3 separate regions of the Homo sapiens genome follow, and regions 2 and 3 are each linked to region 1. Evidence: promoter capture Hi-C in 16 types of primary human blood cells and fetal thymus (Javierre and others, 2016). All regions are on one chromosome and are shown on one strand. The core of a region is centred on a gene start or on the middle of the fragment in contact, and the rest is flanking DNA. Distances in the headings are between cores, read along the strand shown. Region 1 holds the start of KLHL32 (kelch like family member 32). Region 2 overlaps MANEA-DT (MANEA divergent transcript). Region 3 overlaps MANEA (mannosidase endo-alpha).

Region 1 (2,527 bases), core at 20-2,519:
GTGTTCCAGTAGAGGACCCAGTCCCATCAGAAAAAAAACAAAAAGCAAAAACCACTGCACTTTCATATAAGCTCTAGTAAGCCATGGCACACATTTTATATCTATCTCTATCTGTGTATAGAGATAGATCTAAAAATAATCAATAAGAGATTTTTTAAAAAACAGAATCTTCTCAGAAATGAGCAGAGGTGCAAAAAACTGCGCTTCAATACTGATGCAGGGGATATAAAAATGCTAGCAAAGATGTATGTCATGAATGCTACCTTCTTACGTTACGAATTCACAAACGTATTCCTGTTCTGGTCAATTTACAATAGAAGCTCATTCTTGTGTGGGGAAACACAATTAAATCATCTGCTTTTAATTTAAAATAATCACGACTAAGTGAACTGCAAAATAAAACTGGAAATAGAGGGGAAGAAGGGATCTAAACTGCAGTCATCTTTCTTTATAAGATCACCAAAATGGGAGTAAATTATGATTCAAGACACAATCCGTTGAAAAATTCATCTGACGAATCCTTTTTAAAGCATACCATATAGTGCAATTACGGCTTTTCTTGAAGTTGAATGAAACCGCCACCTGAATACAGATTAACAAATGCCAAATTACGAAAGGTCCTCAGTGTATATTTTATTTTAAATATCAAAATAAATAACGGCATCATTTAAGAAACCAGTTCTTTCAATAGATGTCCCACGGCTGATGTTTAAGCAAGTCTCCTTGGCAACCAAGGAGCACAGTACATATTGGGCTCAGGGGGAGGGAAGAAAGGGGGAGCGACTCCAGGGCTGGCAGCATAAGTAACCTGAGTAGTGGCTGCTCCCGTTAGACGACACGGGCAGAGGCTGCATGGGCTGCAAGCCCCTGAAATGTCAACTCCGGGTCTGCCCCCACTTGGCGCACCAGCAGCCTCCCACCCTCTTCCTCAGGTCTGCAGAACAGGTTACAAGGAGAGAGACTGGCTTACCCGATGGGGTGAGCGGTCTGCTGGGTTAGGTGCCAGAGACGGCAGCGCAGGCACCGGCCTCTCCTTGATGCACAATGGCTCTGCTTCGCCCCACGATGCTGAGGTTAACAGAACCCGCAGTAGCTTCGCTCTGCTGGTTCGGGGATGCAGTAGCGAAGACGAGCGTCCTAGCGTGTTTGTGTGTGCGAAAGTGTGTGTGTGTGTGTGTGTGTGTGTGTGTGTGTGCCTGCGTGCGTGTGTGCGCGCGACTGCCTGCGCGCTCCCGAACTGTCGCGCGGGGAAACTGCTCCCTAGTAAATAAAAAGCCCTAGCCAGCACTGCAGGTGGCACGTCCCGCTGACTCCGCCCCAGGCGGTCGCGTCAGACTGGAGACGCACCTTGGCACCCCCGGGGCGGGTTCAGACGCCACAGGGCTCCGCCCCCTCCCGCCTCCAGCTAGCCCGCGCGCTCCCTCCCCCTCCCCCGCGATCCCGCGCACATCCTTTCGCCACCCCGCGCGCAACGCCACCGCCCGCCGCCAGCGCGCTCGCTCCCCTGCCGCCCCCCGCCCCCGCCCCCGCCGTCGGCGAGCTGCCAGCGCGCGCCCGCCGGTCCCGGAAGTACCCTCCTCCACGCCGCCCTCCTCCTCGCTCTCCGGCACCTGCGTCGCCGGCCCCTGGGTCACATGCGCAGTCTGTAGCCACCACTGCGGCGACTGAGACCCGGGAACCCAGCCTGCTCGCCCCCAGACTCCTTTCCCAGGGCTGGCGGGCAATCTGAGCAAACAGACCCCGTGGCCCTAACTCGGTGTTCCAGGGAGTCCTTGCTCTGCTAACTTGTGAAGTTCAAGTTGCCTCTAGTCCTAGCGGCCCTACAGTGGCCCTCCTTAGGATAATACACTCTATGGTACTGACCAGAACAAATTCACAGTAACTTTAAGAAACGTCAGGGGAACCAACCCGCCAGAGGTGGACGAAATCCCCAAGCCTGAGAAATGAGAAAGGGTGTGATTACTGTGGTTACTACTAATTCAGCAATAAAACCGCAAACAGACAACAACCACAGAACCATACCATTAAATTCCAGGGCCTGGCACACTCAAGTGCCACTTCCGAGTCATTCAGGTCACTCCTGTGTAAAACATGCTGAGAAACTCACACTAAAGCAAAGTGGGTAATTTTAATAGGTAAGTATTCCACCACCGAATTGAAAACCTTAGTCCAACGTGGAGGTAAGACACCAGAAGCAGGAAGAGTGTAACTAAATTGGAGTAAACTGTATTTTGTAGAAGTTCAGGATTTAACTTACTGCAAAGATAGTATGTTAATCCTATTTCTTGCAGGTTTATGTTCTGCCACAGAGTTGGGCTAGGAACAGTGCCCTGATCTATTTTGAGGTGTCCTTAATGTTCTCATTGGTCTCAAATCAGTGGTTCAGCGATTATTTTCTACTTCTAGATCCACAGGATTTGGGGGTTTATTCGTTTGCTCCCTCTGGAGGTTATCTGTCTGGCTTGTAGTGCTTCATTTTCATGGTTTTGATATCTGGACGCTAGGATGCTGGGTACCTACTTATCTA
Region 2 (2,527 bases), core at 13-2,512, 1.4 Mb after region 1:
AGACTCTCTTCTGTCTAGGCGCTCTCTCATATGACACATACTCACTGTTGGAAGTCTCTTTTCATTTTCATGCCTTCAATAACCACTTTGTGCTCTTCTGGTCCATATCTCAGTGGAAAGTATCCTTATACATCTTATAGATCAAGACATCATTATAGATCTTATAGATCAAGCCATAATTTTTGGCCTCTTTTTTCCCCTCAGAGAAAATACAAATCTTTCAAAATATATTTAACTTTTCTCTATTTCTTTCCCTATTTAACTTTTCTCTATTTCTAATATCACCACTCCAATGAAATGTTTTATTATCTTTCATTTAAGATCTCTCATTCTGATTGATCTTTCACCTGCCTTTGGCCTTTCAATACGACCTCCACACTGCAGTCAGAATGATCTTTCTAAAAATCAAATTGATCATGTGATTCCTGTCCTTATAACCTTCCAGTACTTTCTCTGTCTCTCAGGATAAAGTCCAAATTCTATAACACAACATATAGAACCCTTATGGATTTGGCTGGTGAGCCCTTTCACTCTCAAAACTCACTACTCCATACTCCCTTCACTTTAGCTGTCATGAACAATTTTCTGTTTCTAGACTTATTTGTGTGCCATGTTTGTTCTTACACCCACACTACTGTTCTCTCCTTCTCCCCTTTACATGGCTAATTACCATTCAAGCTTTAGTGCTCAACTTAGACATTACTCCTTTTAAGAAATTTTTCTGACACCCAAGTTAAGACTAGGTTCCCCATTTTGTTCTTTCATCCTGTCCCAAACTCATTATATCTTGGCCTTATCATGTTGCATGGTATTTGTCTGCTTACTTATATGCATGTGTGTCTCTTAATTGTGTGCAAACTTCTGCGGGAGAATCACCTTATCTACCTCTTTCACTGATTACCCCCAGCAAAAGGACCTGATACAAAGGAGGTATTTGATAAATACAACAATGAATAAATGAACAAATGAACATCTGAATGAACAGGTAGAGACATTTGGGAAGGTAGAAGATGATGCTCTCAGTATTGGGCATATTGCTTTGACTAAAGGCATTACCAGAATATTCAAGCAGGAGCAGGAAATCATCTGCATGGGTAAACCAGAGCTTATGGGAAGTACAAAAGTAGAGAGTGAGATCTGAGAGCCATCCACAAAGTAGAGAGAATTGAAGCCATAAGACTAGATGAAATTGGATATAGAAAATATAGATGAAAAGAGAAGACAGGTAACGATGAAACATTTGGAAATACCTATATCAATTTTTAGCTGAAAGCACAGTACACCTGAAATCAAGTGAGTAAAAACTCCATTAACGATTCTAGGCCAAAAAAAAGGACTCCAGGCAGTTAAAAATTAATAAGAATTAATGTTTGAGAAGAAGAAGCTGTTGACAATGACTTCCAGACAAATAAATGTATTAAACACTGGTATACCTAAACACTTTGACTACCTAATGCTCTTAATTACCTGGTAATTAAAGGCTAAAATGTCTAAAGGAACATGAAAATAGTGAGCCTACATGGTGTAGGAGCCATGGCTAATCAGTCTACTTTGAACTTGAAGTAATTTACTTTAAAACAAATCAAGGAAGATGCATTGCTTCTTCCGAAGAGTAGTGTGACATTTCAGAAAGTAAATACAAGAAATTCTGGCACTTCATAATTTTCAGTAGGGAGGAATGAAGGCAATGGCAAACACAGCCTAGAGCAAGCCAGACCCTTACTTTCTCTGATAAGCAGCTTTTGGAATTATCTGCACTGGGAGATGTACAAGAAAGTAAGCTACTCAAAAAGGAAATCAGCATGTGGTAACTTTTCTCTGATCTACCGATTCTTCCTAAAGCTTGGGCACTAACCTTGAAAAGGCAATTGGATACCATGATATTCCTAGACTGAAGGCTGGGCCAAATGGAAAAGGAGATACAGAGAACTGGTCCCTAGTACAGTAACCTTATAAATGACAGAGAGGAAATCATACACAGATTAAATTGTTCCACTAAATCTGCTCATGCCATACCCTCCTTTTAATTCTTTTTAGAATGCTGGATTATTAAAACTTACACTAATTGCCTTTCCAGTTTAAAACGTTAGAGAGATGTTCCAAAAATATACTTGGCATATTGTATGTATATACATACATACGCATATGTGTGTGTGTGTGTGTGCGTGCAATGTGTAATGTGTAGTACACCTGAAATATATTTCAGGGGTGCAATGAAGACATCGAAAAGGTTTTCTCCCATGTGCTGTTTGGACAAATACCAGGCCATAAATGACCCCTCTTCATTCAAGAAGGAGAAACAAAGATAAAAATACAAAAAGGAATTGATTTTTCTAATAACAGTAGCAGAACAAAACTGTCTAAAGATTGTTCTCAAAAAATCTTCCTTGAGAAACAAAAATTTTTTAAACGTGCCTGTATTATACTGTCAAAAAAATTCACAAGGACTCTTACAGCAAAAATATAAGATGAAGTGATGAACAAAATACTGAGTTCAAATTCTACAAAACACTCTTTAATATTCCTT
Region 3 (2,527 bases), core at 14-2,513, 1.3 Mb after region 1:
AATTACGGCAGACTACTCATCAGAAACCATGAAAGACTGAAGAAAAAGAAGAAAAAAAGAAATGGAATACATTTTCAAAATTCCAAAAGAAAACAATCCCCTAAAACCTGCCCATTGAGAATTCCATAGGTGATGAAACATCTTTCAAAATAAAGGCTACAAACAAAATTTGAAAATATTCATTGCAAGGAGACCAGTAAAACAAGATAAAAGAAATTTTTAAGAGAGAAAGAATATGATATTAGACATACACTTGGATCTACATTAAAATATGGATGGGGAACAGTAGAAATGGAATAAATGTAAAAAACATTCTTACTTTTAATCACTGTGAAAAACAACTGATTATTGAAAAGAGTGATCAGCAAACTATGACCCATCGGCCAAATCTTGCCTTTTACAGGCCAATTCATCTATATATTTGTCTATCTATTGCTTATAACCATTTTCACACTATAAGGATAGAGCTGAGTGGTTGCAAAGAGAGAGAGTGAGGGACTCACAAAATCAAAAATATATATTAGGCAGTCCTTTACAGAAAATGCTTGCCAACCTCTGGCCTACAGCAATGATAGTAAAATACCATTTCTTATGTGACAGAATTACGACAATAGCAAACTATGGGAGGGAAACATAGGGAATATCAGTGGTGAAGACCTTACATTACACATTAAGTATATATTATTTGCAAGTAGACTGTCTCCTTGCAATGAATACTTTCAAATTTTTTTTGTAGCCAAAGGTTGGGCATCTATAGCAATATGAAAGCTTTATGGAATATCACCACTCTACAGTTATAAATATAACCTTTAAACTTAATGCAAATAGTTATTATAAAAGGAAATTTTATGACATCATATTAGATGTTATTAGGTACATTTAAACTTTATGTGTCTAATTCATCTCATTGTGACTTCTACTTTTATGTATAAATTTTTAAAGGCAGGAGATGCAGAAGTAAGAATTGTAACCTTACTAAAACAAATATGTCATACTTTCAGGAAATATTCTAATGTTGAAATCCATCCAGTGTTTTTAAAGCAACAATGATGAAAACAAAGGAACTGGGAAATGTGACTTGCTCATTTTTATGTCCCTAGAATCTAGCACAAGCTTGGAACGTCATGGAAAATCAATAAATATTTAGTGCTAAACTGAAACAATGGGAAGATAATTTTAAAGTCATAGAGTACATTATGTTTTGCTAAATGTAGCAGTTCTCTATTTTGCCATAACAAACTATCACAAATTTAGTTGCTTAAAACAACGTAAATTTATTACCTTACAGTTTTGCATGTCAGGAGTGTTGACATGGGTCTTAATATGCTAAGATCAAGGCCAGGTATTGGACTGGATGACATTCCTTTCTGGAGGCTCTAGGAAAGAATCCCTTTCCTTGCCATTCAAGCTTGTAGAGGCTACCACATTCTTTGGCTCATGAACTTCTTGTTCCATCTTCAAAGATAGCAACAGGGGGTCGAGTCTCTCGTGCATCCCTCTGACTCTCTTTTCCCTCTTCTTCTATTTATAAGGACTTATGTGACTAGATTAGCTGTACCCAAATAATGAAGGATAATGCCATCTCAAGTTCAGATGATTAGCAATCTTTTGCACCTGCAACCCTAATTCCCCTTTTGCCAAATAAAATAATATATTCACAGATTGTGGGAATTACGATGTCCACATCAGAAAATGGGGGCTATTTTCTGACCAGTCTACTAAAGTTTTAGTAAACTGTATAAAAAAAAGAAGGCATTCATCTGTTACTTTTAGAGTTGTAATACAGCAATACAAGAGGATAGAATACATGATACGTAATATTTTACTTAAAAGACTTGAAAAGGATACAAATCTACCATATGCCATTGTAATATATCTGATACATTATATATAATAATTGGATTTTAAACATAACATTAATAGTTCATTTTAATTTTATCATTCTTTTCAATGAAGGGTTGAGCCATTAGGATTTATGCCAACCACACTTAATTGTAAAAGCAGAAAATCAACCAACTTGTACTCTGCGATATAACAGCATAATTACTTCACACAGCAATTCAACTTAAGATAAAAAGAAGGCCATTTATATCAAAGGAAAAATATGAATGTTAAATATGTAGTCAAAGCACAGTCAACCATACAACAATTTAAACAGCCTTCATTTACTATCTTCTTCAATCCAAAGAATGCCTGAGTCAGCATGCCAGCTCCATGGATTAAATTAGGGTTTTGAGTCAGTATTCCAACAGTCAAATTATTTTCTGCCTGGTAACAATGAGTATAATTCAATATTTAACTCATTAAGAAATTATTTCTTTATTTATAAATTGATTATGTCACTTTTATTATCAAGTTTATTTTTTAATTTTGTCTAGGAGAAAATCCATCAAAAAGTAAAATATTTGCATCCGTAGTGAAGCTGTCAACATTTAAAATTGAAATGACTGTATTACTGTCAATGTTTAGAAATAATTAATGTTCATATACATGATACAATACTAAAATATTATACAGGGAAAAAGGT

What was found. Contacts are between HindIII fragments. The CHiCAGO score rates a contact against its expected background, and 5 or more counts as called.
Region 2: a contact is called between a fragment that was not itself captured here and the fragment with the promoter of KLHL32 in region 1, in 8 of 17 cell types (total CD4 T cells, non-activated CD4 T cells, naive CD8 T cells and 5 more). The highest score is 10.8, in total CD4 T cells.
Region 3: a contact is called between a fragment that was not itself captured here and the fragment with the promoter of KLHL32 in region 1, in 8 of 17 cell types (total B cells, total CD4 T cells, naive CD8 T cells and 5 more). The highest score is 14.7, in total B cells.

The regions. Positions count from the first base shown.
Region 1 is chr6:96,923,470-96,925,996 of GRCh38, reverse strand. KLHL32 (kelch like family member 32) reads right to left here and starts at 1,269. Exons shown (of 11, transcript NM_052904.4): 1 at 971-1,269. RefSeq lists a silencer at 1,233-1,542. The HindIII fragment of the contact is 7,655 bases long and covers 1-2,527 here.
Region 2 is chr6:95,561,873-95,564,399 of GRCh38, reverse strand. The region is part of intron 2 of MANEA-DT (MANEA divergent transcript); the gene reads left to right. Among named protein-coding and RNA genes, the nearest start is that of MANEA-DT, 14 kb to the left of the region's middle. RefSeq lists a silencer at 1,613-1,907. The HindIII fragment of the contact is 1,164 bases long and covers 681-1,844 here.
Region 3 is chr6:95,588,928-95,591,454 of GRCh38, reverse strand. All of the region lies in intron 2 of MANEA (mannosidase endo-alpha), which reads right to left. Among named protein-coding and RNA genes, the nearest start is that of MANEA, 13 kb to the right of the region's middle. The HindIII fragment of the contact is 295 bases long and covers 1,116-1,410 here.